Linked DNA regions of Homo sapiens: all the other regions are linked to region 6. Evidence: promoter capture Hi-C in 16 types of primary human blood cells and fetal thymus (Javierre and others, 2016). All regions are on one chromosome and are shown on one strand. Each heading gives the region's core, a stretch centred on a gene start or on the middle of the fragment in contact. The rest is flanking DNA. Distances are from core to core; before and after follow the strand shown.

Region 1 (3,616 bases), core at 61-2,560, 2.8 Mb after region 6:
TCTACTGTGGAAGTATAAGCAACAGGAACTTCACAAAATTCAGGGCACTGCTGCTGGAGCAAAAAAACCCCAATTCTTCTGAGCCTTGGGAGCCTTGGGAGCCTTGGAAGAATGAATATAAATGGCCAAGTTGGACCATGCACTTCCTAGGGACTGTACAGAATGGTGAGAGGAAGCTTCTTGGGGAAGGAGCCTCTGGGTATTTCAGAACAGAAGTAGAAAGTATTGGGACTTTAGTAGTGGGAGGGAAGAACTTCATGTTTTTCTACTGATATTGCACAGAATGGGGAAGAGGTAAGTATGAATGGGGAAGAGGAGGGAGTGAGCAGGAAACTGACTTGAAAACTATTACAATAGACCAAGTAGGTGGTCATGTAAGATTAAAACTTGGATAATAGAAGAAAGAATGAGAGGAAAAGTAGGATTTAAGAGGATGACTTAACAGCAGTTTTCTTTTTTCTTGTTCTCCCCTATTTTCGGAGTTCTCAACCATCATCTCCTGCCCCCAGGAGGCGACTCTGGGAATTAGAGGTTGTCTATTCCCATGTCTGAATTCTTGCCTAAAGGCCTTCAATTGCTGACCTCTTTTCTCAAATTTTCAATCTCATCTCAGTATCATTTTGCTTCCCAGTATTTTCGATACAAATCATTTTACTTATGATAGAAACCGAAGCAAGTATGGTTTGTCTTTGTAATGTAAACGTAATTTCGGAAGTAGACCATTCCTCTTGATCATAAGCAAAGTCAAACCTAATATTAGTTTGGATTTATATTACTGTTAATATTATTTACTCTCTGAAAACAGACTGCCCCCAATTAACATTGTGAATTGTCTGCCCTGTAATGACCAGATATTCCATTCTATTACATTATTGAAATCATTTGCATGGTAATTATGGTTTAGCTCTATCGGTAATTGGAATTGTTTGCCTTCTGGTAATGTTGTACAATGGTGGCTCATTAATCACATAGAAAACCTTGCCACGTGGCAGAATTAAGGAAGTATAATAATACACTCCCACTAAACTCGTGGTTCTAAACCAGCGTTTCAGTTTGTTCCATTACCTTTCCTGTGATGTAGGTTTTTGTTTGTTTGTTTGTTTAGTTTCTAAGCCACTCATGACAGAAAAACAATATAAACTGCAAATGTGAAAATGTGATTGTTCTAGGAAAATTTTATTTAAAAATTCCACAGCACGAATTACCCATCTCATCTTCCTCTTCTCTTCAATATTTCTCCTTCCTCCAATCTGATAAATGAAGCAAATATCATAGGCTGCCAAGGGAATTGAGATATTTTTGTGTGTGAGTGTGTGTGTGTGTGTGTGTGTGTGTATAATTTAAGTAAACCAAATGTATAGGAAAAATCTGAGTTTGCATTAAAAACAAAACAAAGCAAACAACTGGGGACTTAACCTTTACTTTACAAAAGGATTCTTTTAAAAACGGTCTTTAAATCCCAAAGTGCCCCTGGTGCGGTGAAATTACTATTTAATCTCTAAAATTTATATTTTTTTCAGGAAGTTTAATAGAATCAAATGATCCAAAAATCCATATACACACACACATGTGCATGCAATTAAAATATGGTCATCTTCTTGTCTGATGTGCTGGATCAGTGCCTGACATGTCAAATGCACTCAGAGATGATTTCTTCAATGGTGGTGATGGGGCATTCTGGCAGGTGATCGCCCCTCAGAGCCACATGTGTAAGTGAGGCAAGTGCCGTCTTTCCTTGGCGTCCTATACCTTCTTGGATGCACCCTCCCCTTTCCCATTTTTAGGGATTTTTAGGGATGCACCCTTCCCTATTTCCCAGCCAGAGCCCAGAGAGGGGAAACAAGGACAGGCTGTCTCTTTGGCTGCTGGTCTACTCGCACTTCCACTATATCCCCTTGGGACCAGAAGTGAGGATGGGTTTCTCATTCTTGTCTTTTCCTCTCTCCCAGGACTCCTTCTGGTATCCACAGTCTAGAGGAGGCAGGGACCGGGCATCTGACACCCCTACATAACATTCTCTTTTTTCTTAATTCAGCTCCATCATTAAGTTTTAATAATGGGAAGAGTGGATTACATGTGTTTCAGTTTTTTGATATATGAAATTTGGGCTGACTAAGTACTTAATCTGAAATGACATTGTTTTAAACTGGAAGAGTGTTGCAAATTTAGATTTTTTTCTACTATCCATTGGGTGTAGACAGGTATTAGGTGGAATAGTTATTTTTTTCTGCACATCTGAGTCCAGAGAACAAATTTGCATCTGTCACTACACAGGTCTAAGGGTTCATCTTGGGCATCTGCAGAAAGACTGGGTGAGTGTTTGAATGTGGGATCAGAGATGACTGTGAACTTGGGGCCCCTTCAATGAGCCCAGCCTTTGGGGGTACAGTTTTGGGCCATACTATAGCCTAGTTACTCAAACTAGGGATGCATAATGGAAAGAGAAAAGCTTTTGGAGTCAAATACCTTCAGTTTTCTTTTTTTCTTGTTAGATAGGGACAATTATTCCTATCATAATAATTAAATGAGATAATATATGTAGGGCACACGGTATGGCACCTGGGACATGGTAAGTTCTCAATACGCATCAGCTGCTATCTTTCATGTTATTAATGGGCCTCGGGGCTTTTTGCAACATTGTCCGCATCAGAGCCATAGTCGTGTCGTCCTTGAGTAACACAACTTTTGCAGGAAGCCAACAGAAGGCTTTAGAGAGTTGCCAATTTTGGAAAGATGCATTAGTCAGCTAGGTCTGCCATAACAATATACCCCAGACTGGGTGGCTTAGACAATAGAAGTTTACTTTCTCATCGTTCTGGAGGCTGGAAGTTCAAGATTAAGGTACCAGAAGGGTTGGTTTCTGGTAAGGCCTCTCTTCCTGGCTTGCCATCTTTTCACTGTGTCTTCGCATGGTCTTTCTTCTGTGTGTGCTCATGGAGAGAGAGAGAGCACTCTGGTGTTTCTTCCTCTTCTTATGAGGACACTGGCCCTATCAGATTAGGGCAACATCCTTATGACCTCATTTAACTTTAATTACCCTATCTCGAAATACAGTCACATTGGAGGATGGGGCTTCAACATATAAATTTTGGGCAAAGGGAACACAGTTCGGTCTGGAACATAAGGCCTAATTGGACTTCCAGGTATATTTGCTTCTTGTTCAAAGCAGTGTGAGCTTGGATTTACAGTTATTTGCAGCTTAAATCCTTCTAGTAACCATAATTGTATCTAAGTGATACAACTATCACATCAAAGAGCTTTTACCTGAGGATTCATGGAACTCCCTAAAATTGTATGCAAATTTTTGTATTCACGCCCATTTTCGGAGCTACCAGCAGATTATAAAGTGGACCCCAAAAGGGTAAAAGTCCAATTATTTAAAAGCACTATTTGGGCAAACAAATGGTCATAGTGGTTAAATTTAACCTTTGAGCATCCAAATTTTAACCACTGATGTTAACATTTTTAGAAGTACTTTGGAACCAGGTAAAAACTCCTTAAATAAAAGTCACAGAATATGGCCTTATTAGTGAACCATTATAGAGTTTCTTTGTCTTAATCTTCTTATATCTTAATCTTGTATCCCACCATCTATCACAGTGTTTGACATATACTC
Region 2 (3,312 bases), core at 325-2,824, 2.3 Mb after region 6:
CTCTTGTCAGGATTATGGCACCATGGCTTCCAAAATGGCCTCGTTGCTTCTGTCCCTGCCCCACTTCCGTTTCTGCTCAACAAACAGCCAGAGTGAGCCTGACAAAACACGTCGGGACATGTCACTCTTGTGCACCAGCGCCTGCCTATCTCCGGGTCCCAAACACACAATTAAATCTCTATCCTCATCTCCCACATATTTCCTCCTTGTTCTTCCTGTGCCATGCACCTGTTACTTGACCTCTGCTGTTCTCTGAACACACCAGGCTTGCTTCTGCCTTAGGGCCTTTGCAATTGCTCTTCTCTGTCTGGAGCCCTGTTCCCCCAGATTTCACCTCACCTTCTTCAGATTCTTACCCAAGTGCCACCTTCTGAGTGAGACCTTCCTTGGTCCTTTACCCAAAATTGCAACCTTCCCCCAAGTCTTTATCCTGTTCCCTGCTGAGTTTGTTTCTTAGCCCTCATCATCACCTCGCATGTGCTATGGTTTACTTATCTTGTCTATTATATGTCGATTCCCCTTTAAAACATAAGCTTCTGGCAACCGAATTTGTTTAACAGCTATAAACCCAGTACTAAAATAGTTCATGGTGCTCAGTAAATATTTAATGCACAAATGGCTGAATAAGGGGATGGAAGTCAAAAGAATTGCATTACAGTGTGATACTCATCAACATACAGTTGTGCAGTGCCCTCTAAGCACCAGGGACTTGCTAGCCACTGAGGACGTACCTGAGACAAAGACTGTTTGGCATCCTTCTATAATCTAGTTGGGGATGGAGGTAGGGTGGCAAAACTGTCCCAAAAAATCAGGAAGTATAGGATGCATATGGTTATCCATGATACGAGCTTGTAATCCAGACATGAAGGCCTGTAAAAGATGTCTCAGATTTGGAGTGTCTAAACTGTCACCTGAAGGTTAAGGAAAAACAACTGGATGAGGGAGGTGGGGCAGTGGGAGAGCTGAAAAGTCACCAGATCTGTTAAGCTGCGGTCAGACCTAAGGGAGGATGTGGCTGAGAAGCTGACTTTTGATGAACTCCTGTCTTTACTCTGATGAAATAAACAAGGAAGCCTAGAATGAAGGGCAGGCAGCCCAAGTGAATTAAAAGCATTTTGAGGCATCTTGCCAAGTTCTATTTACTCTTATTTCATTAAAAATACAGAAAGAGTAGTAAATACAAGATTCAGCCTTGCTCGGTTTCAGGATGTGGGAGGAGAAATCATGCAGCTGTCTTACATGAATCTGCTAGAAAGAAGCAGGTCACAGGTGTGATCTGTGTGGCATCAACGAGCATGCTTTTCTGTTGTTTTTGACATTCAGCATTTATCTATTCTTCTTTTCGTGATGGTATCCTGACTTGAGGAGGCACAAAACATATTGAGGAGACAAAGACCTCCCTAAAAAAAAAAAAAAAAAAAAAAGACCTCCCTAAAAAAAAAACAGGTTAACCCTGAGCTTCCTGGTGACACTCAAAGCCTTCTGACCAGAAGAAGTGTGAAGAAAAGGGGAGAACAATCCCTGGACCAACCAATGCCCACACGTTGCTGCATCCCACGCCCAGTGCCCATGTCCCACTGCCGTTGCCAGCATGCCCAAGAGAACAGCTGAAGGGGATGCTATAGTAGATAAGGCCAAGGTGAAGCATGAACCACATAGTAGATCTGCAAGTTGTCTGCTAACCCTGCCCCTCCAAAGCCAGAGCCGAAGCCTAAAAAGACCCCTGCAAAGAAGGGAGAGAAAGTACCCAAAGGGAAAAGTTGACGCTGGCAAGGAGCGGATAACCCTGCAGAAAATGGATATGCCCGAACAGACGTGGCACACAGAAAGCCAAAGGTGCTGGGGGTGCCGAGGGAAATGTGTGCATTTTTGAAAATTGTGTACTTCTGGTGGCTGCACAGTTTGAAATACTACTTTTTATCAATTTTTTTTTTTTTGAGATGGAGTCTTGCTCTGTCACCAGGCTGGAGTGTAATGGTGTGATCTCAGCTCACTGCAAACTCCACCTCTCGGGTTCAAGACATTCTCCTGCCTCAGCCTCCTGAGTAGCTGGGACTACAGGCACGTGCCGCCACACCCAGCTAATTTTTTGTATTTTTAGTAGAGACAGGGTTTCACCATGTTGGCCAGGATGGTCTCGATCTCCTGACCTTGTGATCTGCCCGTTTCGGCTTTCCAAAGTGCTGGGGTTACAAGCGTGAGCCACCGTGCCCGGCCCTACTTTTTTTTTTTTAATCAAGTTTTATAAAAATCAGAATTTTGTTTTACTCTTTTTAAAGCTATGTTGTTAGCACACAGAACACTTTATTGTTTTTTTGGGGAAGGGGCATACGTCACTAATAGAATGTCTCTGAAGCTGGATTGATGTGGGGAAAACACTTTTCCCTTCTAGTTTTTAATTTTTTTTTTATTTTTAGTAGAGATGGAATTTCACCATGTTGGCCAGGCTGGTCTCGAACTCCTGACCTCAAGTGATCTGCCCATCTCGGCCTCCTCAAGTGTTGAGATTACAGGCATAAGCCACCATGCTCAGCCCCCTTGTAGTTTTGAAAGACTTCCTCTTGGCTCCCAGGAGGAGGGATTCCCTGACTTTGACCACATGGTCACCTTGGCACAAAAGCTTTGTGGTATGGAAAAACAAAATCATTCATTTTTAAATCCTCTTCTTCCTTTCTACCTTTCAGCACAGACTTAACTCCCTTAAATCCAGACACCTGTTGGGACCTGACCCCCAATAATTGGTTACCAGTGTGTTAGGCAATCTGGACTTTCCAGTGATGCCACTGAGATGCTGCCCCTCCAAAGAGCAGCGGTTCCGATTCTAGACTGTGGATCTTCAGATAACCCTGACTTTCAGGAAGTGAAATAAAAATGGCAGAATTTAAAGTTGTTAAACAATGCGCTAAATGTGAAATGTCAACCCTCACTCTAAACTTTCCCTGTTTAGAGCATCAGTCGAAAGCTTCATGGGTTTTAGAGTGGCTTTCTGATTTTTGGTAGTCCATGGAAGAAGAGAGTTTGAAAGTTGTTGTATACTGTTAATGATTGTCTGCCCATGTCCTGCTGAAATACCATGAGTGTTGATGGACAGTATCTTTTTTTTTTTTTTTTTTTTTTTTGAGACGGAGTCTCACTCTGTCACCCAGGCCGGACTGCGGACTGCAGTGGCGCAATCTCGGCTCACTGCAAGCTCCGCTTCCCGGGTTCACGCCATTCTCCTGCCTCAGCCTCCCGAGTAGCTGGGACTACAGGCGCCCGCCACCGCGCCCGGCTAATTTTTTTTTGTATTTTTAGTAGAGATGGGGTTTCACC
Region 3 (3,331 bases), core at 97-2,596, 2.8 Mb after region 6:
TTAACCTCTCTGTGTTTGATATTGTCAACCACTGTCCCTTTCATGAGTCCCTGTTTCCATGGCGATGGTGACATTGTACTCTTCCAGCTCTTAAATCCTCCTGACTGTTCTTTCCCTGAGCTCCATAATGACTCCCCTTCCACTTCTCTAGTCTTCTTTTTTTTTTTTTTTTGTTTTGAGACGGAGTCTCACACTCTCACCCAGGCTGGAGTGCAGTGGCGCATTCTTGGCTCACTGCAAGCTCCGCCTCCTGGGTTCACGCCATTCTCCTGCCTCAGCTTCCCAAGTAGCTGGGACTACAGGCACCCGCCACCACACCTGGCTAATTTTTTGTATTTTTAGTAGAGACGGGGTTTCACCGTGTTAGCCAGGATGGTCTCGATCTCCTGACCTTGTGATCCGCCCGCCTCAGCCTCCCAAAGTGCTGGGATTACAGGCGTGAGGCACCGCGCCCGGCCTTCTCCAGTCTTCTAATTGTGGGGTCTGCCTACAGAACTGTTCTTTTCTTACTTCTCTTTTTTCTGCATTTTCTATTTCTTGGATATTTAATTCACTCCTATGGCTTCAATGATGATTTCTATGACAGAGGTTTTGAAATATGACAGATACAGACATAACTAGAAATATAAATCTGACCCTGACCTCCCCTGGAGTTCTAATCTCCCATTTTCTGTTACCTGCTAGGCAAGTCCCATTTGTATTTTATTTTATTTTTATAGAAAGAAATGAGATAATCATATGTATTGTAAAAATGTGAATCCATACACATATGTACTGTATATATATATGAATGCATATACATATGTAATACATATACATGTATATTGTGCATATACACACAAACACATCTTAATGAGACCAATGTCAGGTCTCTACCCCCGAACAATTATGTTGGAATATGTAGGATGGGGCTGCAGCACTTGTGCCTATTAAAAGCTCCCAGAGTGATTGGAAAAGAACAATTATTTCCATAGGTTTTGGGGAACAGGTGGTGCTTGGTTACATGAGTAAGATCTTTAGTTGTGATTTGTAAGATTTTGGTGCATCTACCACCTGAGCAGCATGCATTTGTATTTTAAACTTAGCATTTCTAAAACAAAACTTGTCTTCTTCACCTTCAGACTCCCCAGTATGGGCTAAAGAGACCTTTCTGGCCTATCCCCTGCTCACCTTTCCTGTTTCATCTCTTACCACTCTTCTACAAGCACTCTTTTTTCCAGTCATGTCAAATAACTGCAGTTTCACGAACATGTCACGTTTCAAATGCCTCTATGCTATTGAAAACTACGTTCTGTCCCCCGAAACATCCTTCTCCTTGGGCCTGAATTTTTTGTCCCAAAACATTCCTTCCTCAACCCTCCAAATTTTTCTTGTGTATCATTTTCCTTAGGAAGGCTTCCTGCATCTGATGCCCTTCTGCTGTCTCTTATAGCACCCCTTGGAAACTTCTGTTATAGATCGTATCATACTAAAGTGTAGCTGGTTGCTTACTTGTTTGTATTCCCAGGTGAACTGTGAGCCCTTGGAAGTGAAGAAGTATGTCTTTGATGTCTGTACACCCAGGCCCTAAAAAAGTGCTTAACACATAGTAAGTGGATTCACACACTTTTTCTGTGCTTAATACATACTGAATGTGAATACATACGGTATGTGAATCTGCTTCTCTCTCCTGGTTTCTCTATTTTTGATGGTGGTAAAGCCATCTCAAATTTATATCTCTAACCCTGACATTCCTCCTAACTCCATGATCACATCCTTCCTTCAAAACATCTCCACTTGAATGTCCAAGAGGTTTATTAAATCTAACAGGGGCTAAGCAAAGCCCCTGCTGTCTTTGCCCACCATACTGCATCTTGGTAAGGGCACCACCATTTACCCAGCTGTTCTAAGTACAAACTCTGGAATCATCCTTTTTCTTCTACTCTACATCAAATCTGATAAAAAAAAAATCCTACAAGCGTTGCCTGATCATAGATCTGGAATCTGGCCATTTTTCATCTCCTCCAGCAGTGCTACATCAGTTCAAGCCACCATTGTCCCTTCCCTGGGCTCCCATGGTGCCTTCTTACTGGTATCTGTTTACTCTTGCTCTCTATAAATGATTCCTCCAAACAAAAGCCAGAGGTACTTACCTTGGCTTACAAGACCATTGAGGATTAGGCCTTTGGCTATCTTTCTGGGCTCATGACCTATCACCTCCTCCTTGTTGACTCTGCTGCCTACACAGGCCCCCTTGTTACTTTCTGAACACACCAGATGGACACTCATTTCAGGGCTTTTTTCATGCTACTCTCTCTGCCCCAGATACTTCTCTCCTAGAACTTCACATGGCTCACTGCCTGGCTTTCTTCTGGTCTCTGCCCAATAGTCACTTCTGGAAAGAGGCCTTCTCTGACCATAATATCTAAAAAAGCACCCCCACAGACTCTATCCTCTTACCCTGATTTGTTTTTTCCTTTGCCATATGATGTTTTATATTTCTTTATATATCTATTGATACTCTCTTTCATTAGTACATTGGCTCCCTGAGAATAGGGTCTTCGTCTACCATGTTCTTTGCTGCAATCCTAGCATCTGGCACTTTTCCTGGCATATAGCAAAAGCTCAACAAATACTTGATGAATGAATAATTCCAGTTATTCAAGACTGTGAGTCATATTTGACTCCTCACTTGCATTCCCTCCTGTGTGCAGTCACCGAGCCCTTTAGAGTCTTATGTTTATTCATTTCACATTTATTGACTGTAAACTGTCTTATGGTCTGTTTTTCTTTGAGCTAACTTACTTTCCACAAGTGCCATATCAAATGAAGTAATTAATGCAACAAGAACTTTGTAAACTCTAAAGCACTATACAAATGTCATTTTCCTTCCAGTCCCACTGCGATGACATGAATTAATGTTACTTCCTCTTCCAATCTATACAGGAGCCTCTAACTGAACTATCTCCTTCCCAAATTCTCCTTAGATTATATATTTTGCACCCTGCTGCCCACTTAGTCTTCTTAAAGCCTTGCTATAATTATGCACCTCTCCTACTCAAAAACTTTGACTGCCTTCCAGTTCTTGACCAAATAGTATACAAAGTCCTTGACTTGTAACCAAGACCTTCCCTGATGTGGCTTCAGATTGCCCTTTCACTGTTTCTCACTCTTCTCCCACCCAAACCCTGGATTTTCAAGTAAGTTTAGCCCACTAACCTTTCCCTGAGCCCAACTGCCTTCCCCCACTTGTCTTTCACTCATGCTTCCCCTCTGAATGGAAAGCTTCCTGCATACCTTCTCCTTAAAAAAAAAACAAGCAAAAAAAATCACACCTTGCAGGCTCAGAACA
Region 4 (3,474 bases), core at 197-2,696, 2.7 Mb after region 6:
GTTTGCAACCTTTGTAGAAGCAAAGTGCGCTTTAATTTTCAAGTTTCTCTTCCTGAAAAGGTTAGGTGAAAATATCATAGCATTCATCGAAAAAAGAAAAAAAATGAGTAAGATATTATATATTAGAATAGACAATGTAAACAAAAAAAGCCAATAAAAAATTATTTAGGTTATCTTGCATGTCTAGATAGGCTCTCAACTCATAATAAAAACTTTAAGTGAAATCCTACTTATAAAAAATAAAGGCCTTAAAGATAGCAGAGTGAATTCATGCAGTTATGAGAGATATTTAAGCCTGGAATTAAACTGAAACCTAAATTGGCTTTCCTCTACATCCCACTTGGTTTTAGAAGTTAAGAAAAAATGCTCCAAACAGAAAATCATGATGTTCTTTTGTACATTTAGGCTACAAAGCTTCTTAAGTATTGTTCTAAGAGACTACATCAAATTTTCCCAAACAGGCCTAAAGCCTCTCTCAGGGAAAACAAAAATCATTAGAAAATTATTACAATTGTGTATGAGCAGTGTTGATGCAACTTTTCTGACATTATACATTTACATTCATACAAATGGAACCAAAGTTTCATGAAACAATACTTATTCTTAGTATAGGCAATGTTCTCTAATACTTCTTCTATTTTCTTAAAAAAAAAATTCTGATGGCAACTTATACTGATTACTTGACCCATTAGTGGTTCTATAGTGGACCACAATTTAGAATCACTGGTTTATACTTTAGTCTCATCAAGACATAAGTATAAGCTATTTTCTCCAGAAAACAATTTATACTCATAATTACAACCATGAAATGCTTATTAGTTTCTGTGAGAAATCTACCCCAAAACATTGCTTGCTATTTCAGTGTTGCCTTAAGAGAAAGAAAGAAGGAAGCGTGAAACCAGCCTGTCTCTGCTGAGGTAACAAAATCAGGAGTGGATGTTGCCACTGCTCATTAGTTTTGCCACAGGAGGGGTAATAAAAGGGGTGAGACAGATACCAACCCACTTTGAAGCAGTCCCCTGGTTGTGTTCATAAAGTTTGGTGGGAGTTGCAGGCAAATCCCTCTGTGTTCTCCCCAGAGAAAAATGGGAGTTCATAACTACTCAGAAAGACAGGAAACAAATTCCCCTGTAGAGGGCTGAGGCCAGGTGGGCAAAAGCTGATTGTGGCTGGCACTATCCTGTCCAAATACAGGCCCTGGCAGGCTGTCCTTCCCACTTCCCCTGCACTGTGTCCTCACACTTCCATCTCATGGCTTATTGCTGGAAGAAAGCTGCAAAGCAAGCTAACAGTCTTTTAAGACACAAGAACTGGTTTAATCTTTTATTTTTTTCCAAGTAAAAGAAACATCCGCCTACCCTACTCCTTTCCCCAAACAAAATCTTCGATAAATCTCAATGTATAAGACAGAGCTGTTGCTGCGCTGGAGAGGAGTGCTGTGGAGAGCCCTGCCCACTCCTCCTCCCTCCTTATCTGTAAGTCCCTCAGGCCCCCCCAGGGAACTCTAGTCCTCTAGAAATGCAGGAATACAGTAATAGTTGAGCATATTTAATGATCCTTGCCAAAGGCAATCAAACCACTGCCATATTTGTTCTCTAATCTTTGCTTGCTCACCAGCTCTCTAAATCCCACCCTAATACAGAACTCCCTAAAACTTCAGCAAGTGACGCTTCACCAAGAACCTACATAAAGCAACATTTCTGAAACTGTCACTCTACATTTCGCTCTTTTTCTTCTATTAAACTGATAGACTATCAGAAATAGAACATCAGCCAAACCAGCTGGGTCCTTACTCCTCATTGCCTGCAGTACCTCTTGTTACTACAATGTACCAATAAATCCAGCCAACCAAACTCTTCTGATAGCCACTCCAACAGAAAGTATGATTCTAAGAAGACGACTGGACTATTACAAGATTTACGTTACTACAGAAGTATGAAAACATGTTTCAATATAGCTGAAGCTGAATTATTTCTTCTTTTCTTTTAGCAAGAAATTTTGGAATTGCTTAGACTCACCAACTCTAGCATCGCCTAGGGGAGAAGGGGCTGCTTTCCCAGCCTATTTTATTGGTCTTGATAGGATAAGGCACAGCCAAGGAATAAGACACGTGAAGATGTAGTGCTGCTGTTACTACACTCACCCTGTAATGTGATGCTTCCTGTGATAAAGATTAAACAAACCATCTTTTTCTTTGAAGAGACTGTCCTGTATGTTTATAAACATGTGGGCTTTCTGAGAAACTGAAACCTTTAAAAAGGCTGAAATTAAATAATTTATCATGCTGAATGGGGGAAAAAAAACCTGTTTCTAGTAAAAGAGAACTGAAGGGAACTAAAAGGGTACAGAAGTAGAGATTAATTCCTTACAAAAGTTATTTTGATGTAGCACACAATGATAATGATAGGCAGAAAAGTTCAGATTTTGATAGATCTATTAATATCCTATCACTGGGTCTTACACTAAAAAATGTAACTTTAAAGCTTCTTCCTGTAAGGAAATTTCTACTCCCCCAATAACATTATTTCAATTATTTAAAAAACTCAACTCTAGCTGTTGACCATTTTTTTGCATAATTAATACTTTGACATAACTTTCAAAATGATGTCTGGTAATGAAGAAAAAATAGTACCTTTTCCAATTCTCTTGGTATTCGCAAACAAGTGTATACTCTTTCTCTTCTTTCTGTATACTTGGCCTCATTATGTTCAAGGAAGTACCCTCTTGTTAGTTCAGCACTGAGGAACCTCAACAATGAAAGCTCTACAGAAAAGAAAATGACAGAAAACAAAAAGAACAGTATTTATCAAGGAACTTCCACGCTAGCTGGGGCCACAGGTAATATACATATAAAACAAAGAGACCAAAATAAATGTTATCTATAATTCTATGCCTAGAACTGCACACAATGATCAGCAAGTATTTTTGAGAAAAGTATTCTTCTTTGTGGTATAACCTGAAAATGCCACAGGAATATGGAAAGGAATAATTATTAAGGGCTAGAATAGTCAGAAAAGTATTTTTCAAGAGCTCAGTCTTGGTTCTTACAGGTGATACAGTACCTGGACTGACAGACATGGAAGGAAAATCAGTAGGTGTCAAGAATATATAAAATAGAGCAATATATAGAGTCAAAAGGGAGCAAAGTCACACAACGGGCACCACTTTAGTCCAAGAACCATCCTGGATGAACTACATGGATACTGGTGCCCCAGCTCCCTTCTTAGTTTAGCCTCAGAGATCCTGCACAAACATCTAAATAATGCCATTTCCCTACATGAAGACTTACCAACATGATACTCACAATAGTTATTACGCGAAGTGCAACCTCAACCGGATCAGAAAAACCTCCCTTTCCTTGGATCTTTCCATTCACCCGTGTTTTTCCTCTGTTCCTCTAAAGCAAATTACTCCATAGTTATCTCATCTCAGGTGAGAAAAACAAGGTCAAAGGAAGTTATTTATATACTTTCC
Region 5 (3,388 bases), core at 683-3,182, 2.3 Mb after region 6:
CCTAGTACTAATGCTACAGTATAGTAGTAAGGGTCTCCAGAGAAACAACATTTATATAACATAATATAAATACATTAATAGAGAGAAAGAGATTTTAAGAAATTGGCTTATATCATTGTGAAGTCGGGCAAGCCCCAAATCTGCTGGACAGGCCAGCAGCCTGGAGACCCAGGGAAGAGTTGATGTTGCAGCTGGAGTCCAAAGGCAGTCTCTGGCAGAATTCTCTTTTACTTCTGGGACCTTGGTCTTTCTCTTAAGGCCTTCAACTGATTGGATGAGGCCCACCACATTATGAAGGGTAACATGCTTTACACCGAGTCTCCTGACTTAAAATCTAAAAAATACCTTCACATCACAACTAGATGTGTTTGACCAAATATCTGGATACCATGCCTGGGCGAATTGCCACTTAAAATTAATCATCACGTACATGTTTTAAGGTTTTGTTACACAAGACCTCACTTCCAAGTATCACTTTCTGTTTTGGTCATCAGTTGCTGCATAATAAACAACCACCCTAAAATTTAGTGACTTAAAACAACAATCATTTATTGTCTGCCATGGTTCTGTGGTTTGACTGGGATCAGCTGAGTGGCCTGTTTCACTTGGTGTCAGCTGGGGGTGTAGGCATCTGCAACATTGTCTTGGCAGGAACATCCAAGATGTCCCACTTAACACGATGGCTCCTGGGCTCAGCTGGGCTGGTCAGGCCTCCCTTCCTCTCTGTGTTGCCACACGGCCTCTCTCTATCCATGTGGCCTCTCCATATGGTCTCTCCCTGGTGGAGGTGAATTTCTTCAAGGTTTCTAAACTCTCAAAAGTGGAGCCTGGCAAGCCCACTCAAAGCTTCAGATCCACAACTGGCACAGCTTCCCTTCCACAGATTCTATAGGTTAAAACAATCACCGGACCAGCCCAGATTCAAAAGAAGGAGAAACAAACTCCACCCCTCCATGGAGGAAGTAGCAAAAATAATGTAGACAGTTTTTACCCTTTACATCTGGATTTGTTAGCTTTTCTGTTTTCATTTTCTTCTGGTCTTTCTTTTGTCCTTCTCTTACACTTATTTTATTACCTTTTATCAATTAGCTTTTAAGATGATAAAAATCTAATACATGCCTCCTGGAATGTCTTCTTGAGCCTAGGGACTTTTGTTTAATGATATATCTTGAGGACCTAGAATAGTGCCTGAAATACAATAGTCATTAAATATTTAGCTGAATTAAATGAATGGTATATAAGCCAGGGTATTAAAAATAACATAAACAAAGTTGTAATAAATATACTTCCCCAGTGAACGACCTAATACCATTACTCCCCAAACCCTCAATTTCTGTCTTGAGCATAGAAACTGTTAATTTTTCCTTTGTGTAGTAGGTCCTTAGTATTTCTTTAGAGGTTGTAGCACTTTATCTTCCTCACTGTTCCTTTTCCTTGGTTGTCCTTTTCCAAACATCTCTCAACAATTTCTCCCAAGTCCATCTTGCCTGCACTAACAGTCTCCTTTAGAACTCCCCTCTCCTGCCTGTCACACAGTCTTAGTAATAGTGCCACAGTATAGTAGTAAGGGTCTCCAGAGAAACTCACTTTCTGCAAGTTTTTTAGTGTGGGTAGGTGAGTATTGAAGCTTGTTCTTGGCGTTACCAGGTTGGTTCTTTGAGTTGAACCAGGGGCATTACATGCGGAATATTCCTGAACAGATCACCTCTGGTTCTGCTGTCTCAAGGGCCACACACAAGAGCTGCCTTCTGACCAAGATGTCTCTGGGCACATGAGACCTGAAATACACATGGCCAAGACTCAACAAAGCGTTTGCTGACTGTCAGAGCTGACAGCATCTCGGTACTGTGGGAGGGAGCCCAGTGTCTGGTGATAGTCAGGACGGACCCAGGTGATGTCAGGGGTGGGGTGGGGCCTGCAGGAGGGAATGGAGAGCCAGCACCTAGGGGAAGCTGGGAATTTAGGAAGATATCCAGAGAGTGTAACTTCAGTTCCACTAATCTCACCTGGGTGAAAACCAGCCCTCTCCATGGATGATGGTGATTGCAGGTACTGACGATAGCTGCAGACTGCTGGTGGTCTAGGCAAGCATGCAGGGATGGGAGCAGGCATTTCTGAGAGCTCCCCTTATCCCTGCCCCAAGACAAGGTGGGGGCCCTGTGGGGAAGGACTATTTTATTCACTTCTGCATCTCCAGTTGTCTAACACATTGCTTATCACCTAACAGTCTCTTAATAGAAGCTTGCTATATTGAGCTGCCTTGAGTCCACATCATGCTGGTTGAACATAAGTAGAAATTGTGGGAGACTTAATCAGAGAAAATCTTTCATCTGTCTTACCTTACGTTCTAATGATCACTTCTGTGCCCACAAGGACCATCTTTTCTGATTCATGTTCATGTCGATTTCTTTTTTATTTAACTTCCTCTTCAAAATTTCTGGCAGGATTTCTTGGGAGCCAATTCTCCATTTTTACTTCCCCATGCCTCCCATTTTAATGACTGTAGGATTTTCTCAGGGTCTACTCAGCAAAACTTGTTAGTACAACATGAGCAAAACAGCAAATTTATGCAAACACTTAGCAAAGACTTAGCTGTCTGCCTAATGCTAGGGTGAGACATGGGAGATTCACAAATGAAGAAACACAAGCATTGATCTCCAGGATCCTGCAGTGGGAGGTATGCGGAGGACCAACCTGGGAACAGAGCAACGCAACACCATGTGATCTGTAATGAAAAAGAGGCCTGTACACAGCCAAGAGGTCACTGAGGAAGGAGCCATTGCTTCTGTGCAGTTAGTGCTGCGCTAGATTCTGCAGGGATGTAAGAAATGTACCCCTATCAAACAAGAAAGACTATGTGAATTGCTGAATATGTGAGTGGAGTACCAGCACAATGCCATGGAGATGCAGACGTGCCCCATGTGGTGGGGCAGAGTCAGGAAGCACTTTAAGAAAGAAATAGCATTTCAGGTCTTCCTTTAAAGGTAGAATTTCAACAAGAGGGTGCTCTGGAGAGTGTGTGTTACCCTGCTGAGAAAATCCTGGCGGTCAGGTAAGATGCTACTGCCAGGGAAGATTGGCCAATTGATTGACTAAACCCTTAAAGGTTTGGGGATCTTGGGGAGGATTCTGCTGGTGAGAGGGTCTGGACTTCCTCTTGGTCTGTCCACAGCTGGACCTTCTCAGCACACAAGAGACTATGAGGGTGACCATTTTGCACAGGACAGAATTCCAGCATGTTTTTCCCCTGGAGTGATGGAATGACCACCTGCTCAACATCAGTGTCCTCACTGAGACCATGAGATTCAGTAGAGTGCTGGAAAGCTTCATGCTTACCTGTGTCTTCTTAATGCTTAGTGTTATGATTGAAGGCTTCCTTCAGTCCTAC
Region 6 (3,171 bases), core at 152-2,651:
CCGAAATGCAACCAGCAACAGGGAAATGTGAAGCCTTAAACAGGAAATAAAAGCCTGGGTTTCTTTAGACTATGGTTGGGATAAGGAAGGGGAGTACAGGGGTGATAAACTTTAGCAATATTCCCAGAAAGTGTTGGCGCCTTTGACAGAAGCATGGGAAAGAAGGCATCCGGGTAGAGGCTCTTCACTATTTGCTGGTGGAGGGATCATAGACCCCTCTGAGATCTTATGGACCCTCTCCCCAGAGCACGTACCGGGCAGTATTTACTCCATTTCAGGAGTTCCACAGCCTTGGGGTAGGAGCCCCTGCCTAGGAGATAATAAGACTGACGCTGCCTGATATTCTCACGCCCGCATTCATTCATTCGAACAGGGGATCCCTTTTGTCACGCAAGCAGCTCTACCCTCAGCATCCTACCCGTAACAGGAGCTCCATAAACACTTGTTGACTGACTGCTTGTATCGAGTGCTGAGCTGGAAACAGAGGTGATGAACAGGTATGATATTAAAATAGCAACTAGAGTGTACTGAGTGGACACTGTGCTCTAAAGGTTTTATGTGTATTTTCACATTTAATATGTATTTTCACATTTCTCCCTTTGCGGCGGCCCTTTTCAATACCCATCTTACAGATGAAGCTTAAACTGATTAGCAATTTGCCCTCCAATGACCCGACGACTAAGTGGCAGAGCCCCAATTCTCACCCGGGGAATACTGATTCCAGAGCTACGCTCCTGGGAGCTCACGATGCAGTAGAAGCATCAGAAACGGTAAAGGGGGTGGGAGGGGAGGAGTAAGTGTGACCCAGACTACAAGTAAGAGGAGCTAAGATGCCTTGGCAAATCCCTGCCAGTCCTGAGAGGCGGGAAGCTGAAAGGCTGGCCCGAGTCTTGCAGGAGTTCGCAATCCAGGCGGGGAGTTAGGAAGTGACTCTTTTTTAAGGGGGAGCTGGACAGCTCTCGTCGGCCTTCACCAAGCGCCCACTTCGTGTCCGGCCTCAGGCCACACAACCAGAAGGGCCCGGGCCTAGAAGCCCGAGGGCTCGGGGTAACGAGGCGACGCCGGGCGGCGGGGAGGAGGCCGGGGACCGCCGGGGTTCCTGCAGGCCTGGGACGGCGGGCCTGCTCGAGGACTGACCTTCCCGGAGGCGCCGTCCCCCAGCACGACGATTTTCAGTTGCCGGTCCTGGCTCTCCTCCTCAGAGTCCGACATGGTGTCCCGGGAACCAGGCCCGCCCCTCGAGGTGGGGGGGGAAGGGAAGGATGAAGGCTCCGGGGGCGGGGGAGAGGAGGAAGGGAGGTAGTTGCGGCAGGACCCCCGCCCCGGTGTCTCCGCGCCGGCAGGAGGTATTCGAGGAGAATCACTCGGCAAGCGCCATCTTGCCCACCTCCCCGCCCTCTGCGCGCGGCCCCGCCCCCTACGCGCACGTCGGGCGCGCGCCCCCGCCTCAGAGCCAACCCGCGCCGACCGGCGGCCCCGCCTGACGAGCCGAACCACTCGCGGCCCTGGACTGGTGTGGGGGACATTCCGGCGGGAGAGGCGAGGCGCTGCGTTTCCCTTCAGGAGACAGTTGGCTAGAAGAAGAAAAGAAGTGTTCGTTCAAATTAAGGAGAGAAAACGGGAGCAGAGCAGCTTTCAGGCGTTCCATCAAATTCCCTTTTCTCCTTCCCTCTTGAGAAAGTCTCTGAAGGGAATGGTTCAGCCTGACGGGGTGGAGCAGTGACGCCCGGGCTACGCGCCAGGGTTGCCTGGCAGCCAGGAGTTCGAGGACCGGCGGCGGGGCGGGGCCTGTCTCCGGGCACCCGGGACGCCCGTAGCCTGGCGGAGAGCGCCAGAGAGGGCCCCTGAAAAACCGGACCAGGGAAGAGGGTACCTCGGGGCGGATGAGGGGACAGCTGCTAAGGGCCGAGGCTGCTGGGAAGCCTCAGTAGCGGCCGTGAATACAGTGGAGCTCCGGCGCTGCTTATTTCGGCCTAACTCTTGGTTTCCTCATCTGAACAACCCCAGGCTCCCATGGTTCGTTCATCAGACGCTACTGATCGCCAACCTCCTGGCACCCCATCTTTACCCTAAGGCAGCAGTTCTCATAAAGTGTGGTCTAGGGACCTCTGGAAATCCCGATGACCTCAGAACAATTTTCATAATAATACGGACACCTTGTCTGTCTTTCTCACGTTCCTTCTCTCACTAGTATACCGTTTCCTGGAGGATACGCTTTGTGTACGACGTCATCACTGGCAGCTAAGGGAGCTTGCGTTTGTTGTTTTTAAACATTTCTCAGTTTTCATTTCAATGCAGTAGTGATAGGTGTAACCCACATAAACATAAGCTCTTTGGAGGTCACAGTAATTCTTTAACATTATAGAGAGGCCCTGAGTCCAAAAAATTTAAGAACTGCTGCCCTGGATAATCTCAGTCCAGGAGCGTTAGGTAAACGGCATAAATGAAATTTACAATTTAGTGAGGTAAATTCAAAAATAATAATGCTGTCCTGCTATGGTTGTTTCATTGTTAATCACTTAAAATTTATTGTTACCTTTACTACTATTAGGAATTATGAAGTATAATTATCCCCATTTTGCAGATGAAGTATCTTAAGTTAACAAAATGCTTAGCCCAGAGGCAGTAGTCTTGGAGACCATATGGGCATTAGAACAGGAAAGCAGAACAGTGTAAAGAAATGCCCAGACCTAGAGGCATCACTGGAGTTTAATCTCATGTTTACTAGATATGTGTCCTCGAGCCTCAGTTAGTTCACCTGTAGAACAGACTACTGCCTTTGTGTAGGTTTGAAAATTAAATGAAATAATCGGCATAAAGTAGATAGCACAATGCCTGGTGTGTAGTAAGCACTCAATATTAACCAGTGTAACTATCACCCTCATCATCATCATAATTAGATGATGGTCCGTGTTGGAAGTGTCACTACTTTCTAGCCAATTTACCTTATACAAGTTTCTTATGTAGAGCCTCAGTCTCTTCATCTGCAGAGAGGGCTGGCCCACAATTATAGGTACCCAGTTAAGTATTAGTACCCAATTCTTTCCCCAATCCCGCACCACCATTGCCACCACCAATTTTCTATTCACCAGATTTATTCATAAGAATTAGAAGAAAGAGGATATGTACTTGTTAGTGAGAAGAATCTACTTCCAGTGAGGACAGACTTAA
Region 7 (3,408 bases), core at 270-2,769, 2.7 Mb after region 6:
TGGGAAAGATACTGTTTTGGCCACATATTTCAGCTATGTGACCCTGGAAAGAGGGTCTCAGAGGGCCACTGTGGCCCTCAGTGTCTTTTCATTGGTAAATTGGGGCAACATCTTTTGTATAATGAAAGCTGAAAAAAATAACGATTTTCCTTTTATTCTCCCTTCCTTTCATTTAGGCTGTAGTTTTCACTTTTTAACTACAAAGCAATTTATCTCTTGATAACACTTCTAGTGTATTGTCCCTAAAGTACTTTTGAAAGTAGTTCTGTACACTTTTCCTGAGTAATAAAAACATCACATATTTGCTAACTTGAAAGAATCCCGAGTCAGGAGATGGCCTGGATTCTCTCTGACCCTTCAACTAAAGTCTTTGACCAAAGGAGCACAGGTGACCCCTTTCTGCTTCATTTTCTGACCTGTAGAGTATTGGACTCAATGACCGATCCTCCCTTGTAGCTCCAAAATTCTGGGCTAAACTCCATGCACCTCCCTTCTGAGTTAAAAATAGTAGACAGGCCTGCATTATCAACATTTGTAGAAAAATATGAAATGCTTAGAGTCACTTTGTAATTGAGTCTAAGATTTGAATGCATAGAGTTCAAATGCAATACTTGTGTTGATAACACAACAAAGACATGTAAGTTTTTATGTACCTTTATGTTCTATGCATTAGTCCTTCATTCCTTGGCATGAGGAGAAGTGATGGTTTCTCAGTGACCTTCCAGAACTCTAAGGCTGTGTTTCTCACACCAGGCCTCAGGGTTTCTACATTTTGAACAAATTTCCAGTATTGTACCCATGCACACCTGAGTCTAAGAACTCTGCTGTAAGGTGACATTAAACAGCACCTGAAGTTATATTTGAGATGATTACTCAGTAATCAATGTACAGTTGATTTTCATAGTGTGGATTCAAGCACGGAATAGAGCACAGTTTTAATTAAATCTGTATTTCTCAGTTGAAACTTTATTTTAGCATTACATGACTTCTATTTCATGAATCATAAATGTCATGTTTCTTCACAAACTGTAGTTCTGAATTTAACTCATTCACCATTTTGTCGTCAAAAAGAAGAGTTGATGTTGTTGAAAGATCTAAACAGCTTTGCAGCTGATGTTCTAAAGAAATAAAATATACCACTGAACCCAGATCAAGCCTTTGCACTAAATTAATGTGAGTTTGAATTTCTGAGTTTCAGTAGTAATATTTTCTATCTTTGGCAATCATTTTTGGACTGACGCTCATTACGTTTTATTCTCTTTGGGCTTTATTCCATGGATTTGTAAAGGACACCAGTTCGCTTTATTTCTGGAAGATGTAACACAAATTAAGTAATGTGCCTTTGATTCCAATGTAACTGTTACACCTTAACTAAAACTGTCATGAGCAACATCATTTTTAAAAGCATTTCTTTGACGTGCAAATATATGACAGAAACCATTGTAAATAGGACTTTTTGAAAACAATACTTTGCTAAAAGGGGTGTTTTATGAAGGATATTATGTTCTGAAGACCTAAAGGTAGGTTCTGTTTATGTAATAAAAGTGTATGAACCTATATAATTTCATGGCTTATTGGCTTATAGGGCCTTTTATTCATGATCAGATATAAAATTTATTTTGTGCTGTACTTTAAATTTCTGGAAAATTTCAAAATACTGATGAAAGGGGCCCTGGTAATGACTCAGCAGACTTTCCATTCCAGATTTATCTCTAAGAAAAAAGAAGTGTTTCTCATTATCACGATGAAAATAAATAGAGGTTGTTTCAAACCGTATTAATCATTTAGTCGGTTAATTAACAAGAATCCTTTTGCAGAATAAATTCAGACCTTCTAGTAAATGTGTTGATAACTGTCAAAAATCCTTTTTTATAATTCTAGCTAGCAAAGGCTTTCATTTTGGAATTCAGGAAGCAGGGGAGATTTTATTTATCACCCAGTTCCTGTTGCTAGTCCTTTTGAATTTTGCCTTTCAGAGTTTTTTTTTTTTTTTCTTTTTGTTATTCCCCAGTGGCAAGTTATTTATTGCTTCGTTTGGCCACTCATCAAATAGTAGTTGGTAATCAGAAGATTTTACATGATATTCAGGATAATTTTTTGCTTTTTTCTAGTGTTTCTAGTTGAACTATGATGGATTAAGGTAACTGAGTAATTTTTCTCTTGACATCGATGCCCTTTAAGCTCTTTTGGGCTGTGATCCTGCTCTTGTAATTAGCTTTCATCCTGTTCATTAATCAGTGTTTCCATTCTGACAGTTTTTCCTTTTCTTTCTCCTCTTGTTTCTGAGATATTAAAAAGCGAAAGCAGTCTCTTACAAGGATCTATTGTTTGTTATCTTTTAGGCAAACCCAAGTATTTATCTCTCTCTTTTGCGTTCATACCAAAATTTATTGGAAATGCACGATAAATTTTCAGATTCTCAAAAATCTCAGGGTTTCTGCTTTCCAGGTTTTAGAAATTAGTTTATCTGATTTCAAGGCCTTAGATTTTCAAATTGCTCTTTTATATGCATCTATTCTATTCCGTTTTCTTTTCAGTTCTAAGCCTATGTTTATATGTAAAATGCTTCTCTTGTTTCTGACATTTTCCAATTTAGTATCAATTTCTAATAATGAACCACTGTTACCTGCTTGTCTTCCATGTGGATGCTTAATAAATACTATAACTTAGGTATACAGTTTCATGGAGGAGAATAGAAGAATGTGGTTAATTTTTTGAAATAGCAATAAAAAGAAAACATGTTGTGGCTTTAGCAAGCATTATTTTCTTGTGACAATTTTATCCTCCTAATTATACATTGCCTAAGCTGGTACTAACGTTAATTCATGTTCTCCTAAGCATATGCCCACTCTTGACAGATATACACTGGGGTTACAAATTTGGCGTGTATAATTTACACATAAATATTCAATTGCTAAGAAAACTGAGACTAAATCACATGCTGGTCATTATCATCTTTTAAATTACACTCTGACCTTTCATCCATCTACTTAGCAGTGTAATAACACAATTGTCTTAATATAAATAATTCATTTCTAGTGCTGCAACCCATTTTTAAATACTCAATTTTAATATTTATTATAGTTCTGATATTTATTATCTGACATGTTTGGCTAGATATTCTTTTTCTGAACAGTACTTAGTTTCATGTAATTTGATTTTATTTTTACTAGCTGGATAAACACACAGTTTTACACAGTAAAAATAAAATCAAATTACATGAAATTAAATTAATGTAATTAATTAATGTAATTAATGTAATGTAATTAATGCATCCAACAAAAATCAGTCTTGTATTAAGTAATTAAAGGTCCAAAAATCAGTTGGTTCCATTGACTTTGGGCAATGCAATGTCCACTCCAAATCTGTCGTTTGTTTCGCTCTGATATTTTAATAGTGTTGCACAGA

The links. Contacts are between HindIII fragments. The CHiCAGO score rates a contact against its expected background, and 5 or more counts as called.
Region 1: a fragment that was not itself captured here is called in contact with the fragment with the promoter of RAB28 in region 6 in 2 of 17 cell types (M0 macrophages and monocytes); the score reaches 10.4 in M0 macrophages.
Region 2: a contact is called between a fragment that was not itself captured here and the fragment with the promoter of RAB28 in region 6, in 5 of 17 cell types (total CD4 T cells, naive CD4 T cells, activated CD4 T cells and 2 more). The highest score is 12.6, in total CD4 T cells.
Region 3: a fragment that was not itself captured here is called in contact with the fragment with the promoter of RAB28 in region 6 in 1 of 17 cell types (total CD8 T cells); the score reaches 6.2 in total CD8 T cells.
Region 4: a fragment that was not itself captured here is called in contact with the fragment with the promoter of RAB28 in region 6 in 5 of 17 cell types (total CD4 T cells, non-activated CD4 T cells, activated CD4 T cells and 2 more); the score reaches 10.0 in total CD4 T cells.
Region 5: a fragment that was not itself captured here is called in contact with the fragment with the promoter of RAB28 in region 6 in 8 of 17 cell types (naive CD8 T cells, total B cells, monocytes and 5 more); the score reaches 12.4 in naive CD8 T cells.
Region 7: a contact is called between a fragment that was not itself captured here and the fragment with the promoter of RAB28 in region 6, in 9 of 17 cell types (non-activated CD4 T cells, monocytes, total CD4 T cells and 6 more). The highest score is 17.8, in non-activated CD4 T cells.

Annotation. Positions count from the first base shown.
Region 1 is chr4:16,270,622-16,274,237 of GRCh38, forward strand. No RefSeq gene overlaps it. Among named protein-coding and RNA genes, the nearest start is that of TAPT1-AS1, 46 kb to the left of the region's middle. The HindIII fragment of the contact is 2,273 bases long and covers 175-2,447 here.
Region 2 is chr4:15,765,386-15,768,697 of GRCh38, forward strand. It overlaps a transcript of BST1 not described here. Among named protein-coding and RNA genes, the nearest start is that of CD38, 11 kb to the right of the region's middle. The HindIII fragment of the contact is 2,087 bases long and covers 532-2,618 here.
Region 3 is chr4:16,251,118-16,254,448 of GRCh38, forward strand. The region is part of intron 2 of TAPT1-AS1 (TAPT1 antisense RNA 1); the gene reads left to right. Among named protein-coding and RNA genes, the nearest start is that of TAPT1-AS1, 26 kb to the left of the region's middle. The HindIII fragment of the contact is 3,832 bases long and covers 1-3,262 here.
Region 4 is chr4:16,211,136-16,214,609 of GRCh38, forward strand. TAPT1 (transmembrane anterior posterior transformation 1) reads right to left here. Exons shown (of 14, transcript NM_153365.3): 2 at 2,633-2,763. Among named protein-coding and RNA genes, the nearest start is that of TAPT1, 14 kb to the right of the region's middle. The HindIII fragment of the contact is 2,069 bases long and covers 413-2,481 here.
Region 5 is chr4:15,781,354-15,784,741 of GRCh38, forward strand. All of the region lies in intron 1 of CD38 (CD38 molecule), which reads left to right. Among named protein-coding and RNA genes, the nearest start is that of CD38, 4.7 kb to the left of the region's middle. The HindIII fragment of the contact is 614 bases long and covers 1,626-2,239 here.
Region 6 is chr4:13,482,939-13,486,109 of GRCh38, forward strand. RAB28 (RAB28, member RAS oncogene family) reads right to left here and starts at 1,402. Exons shown (of 7, transcript NM_001017979.3): 1 at 1,138-1,402. The coding sequence starts at 1,212. LOC105374495 (a long non-coding RNA gene) reads left to right here and starts at 1,511. Exons shown (of 3, transcript XR_925413.1): 1 at 1,511-2,016. RefSeq lists silencers at 934-1,553, 1,547-1,841, 1,804-1,863 and enhancers at 1,287-1,581, 1,377-2,284, 1,544-1,663. The HindIII fragment of the contact is 2,971 bases long and covers 637-3,171 here.
Region 7 is chr4:16,230,087-16,233,494 of GRCh38, forward strand. All of the region lies in intron 1 of TAPT1-AS1 (TAPT1 antisense RNA 1), which reads left to right. Among named protein-coding and RNA genes, the nearest start is that of TAPT1-AS1, 5.1 kb to the left of the region's middle. The HindIII fragment of the contact is 8,035 bases long and covers 1-3,408 here.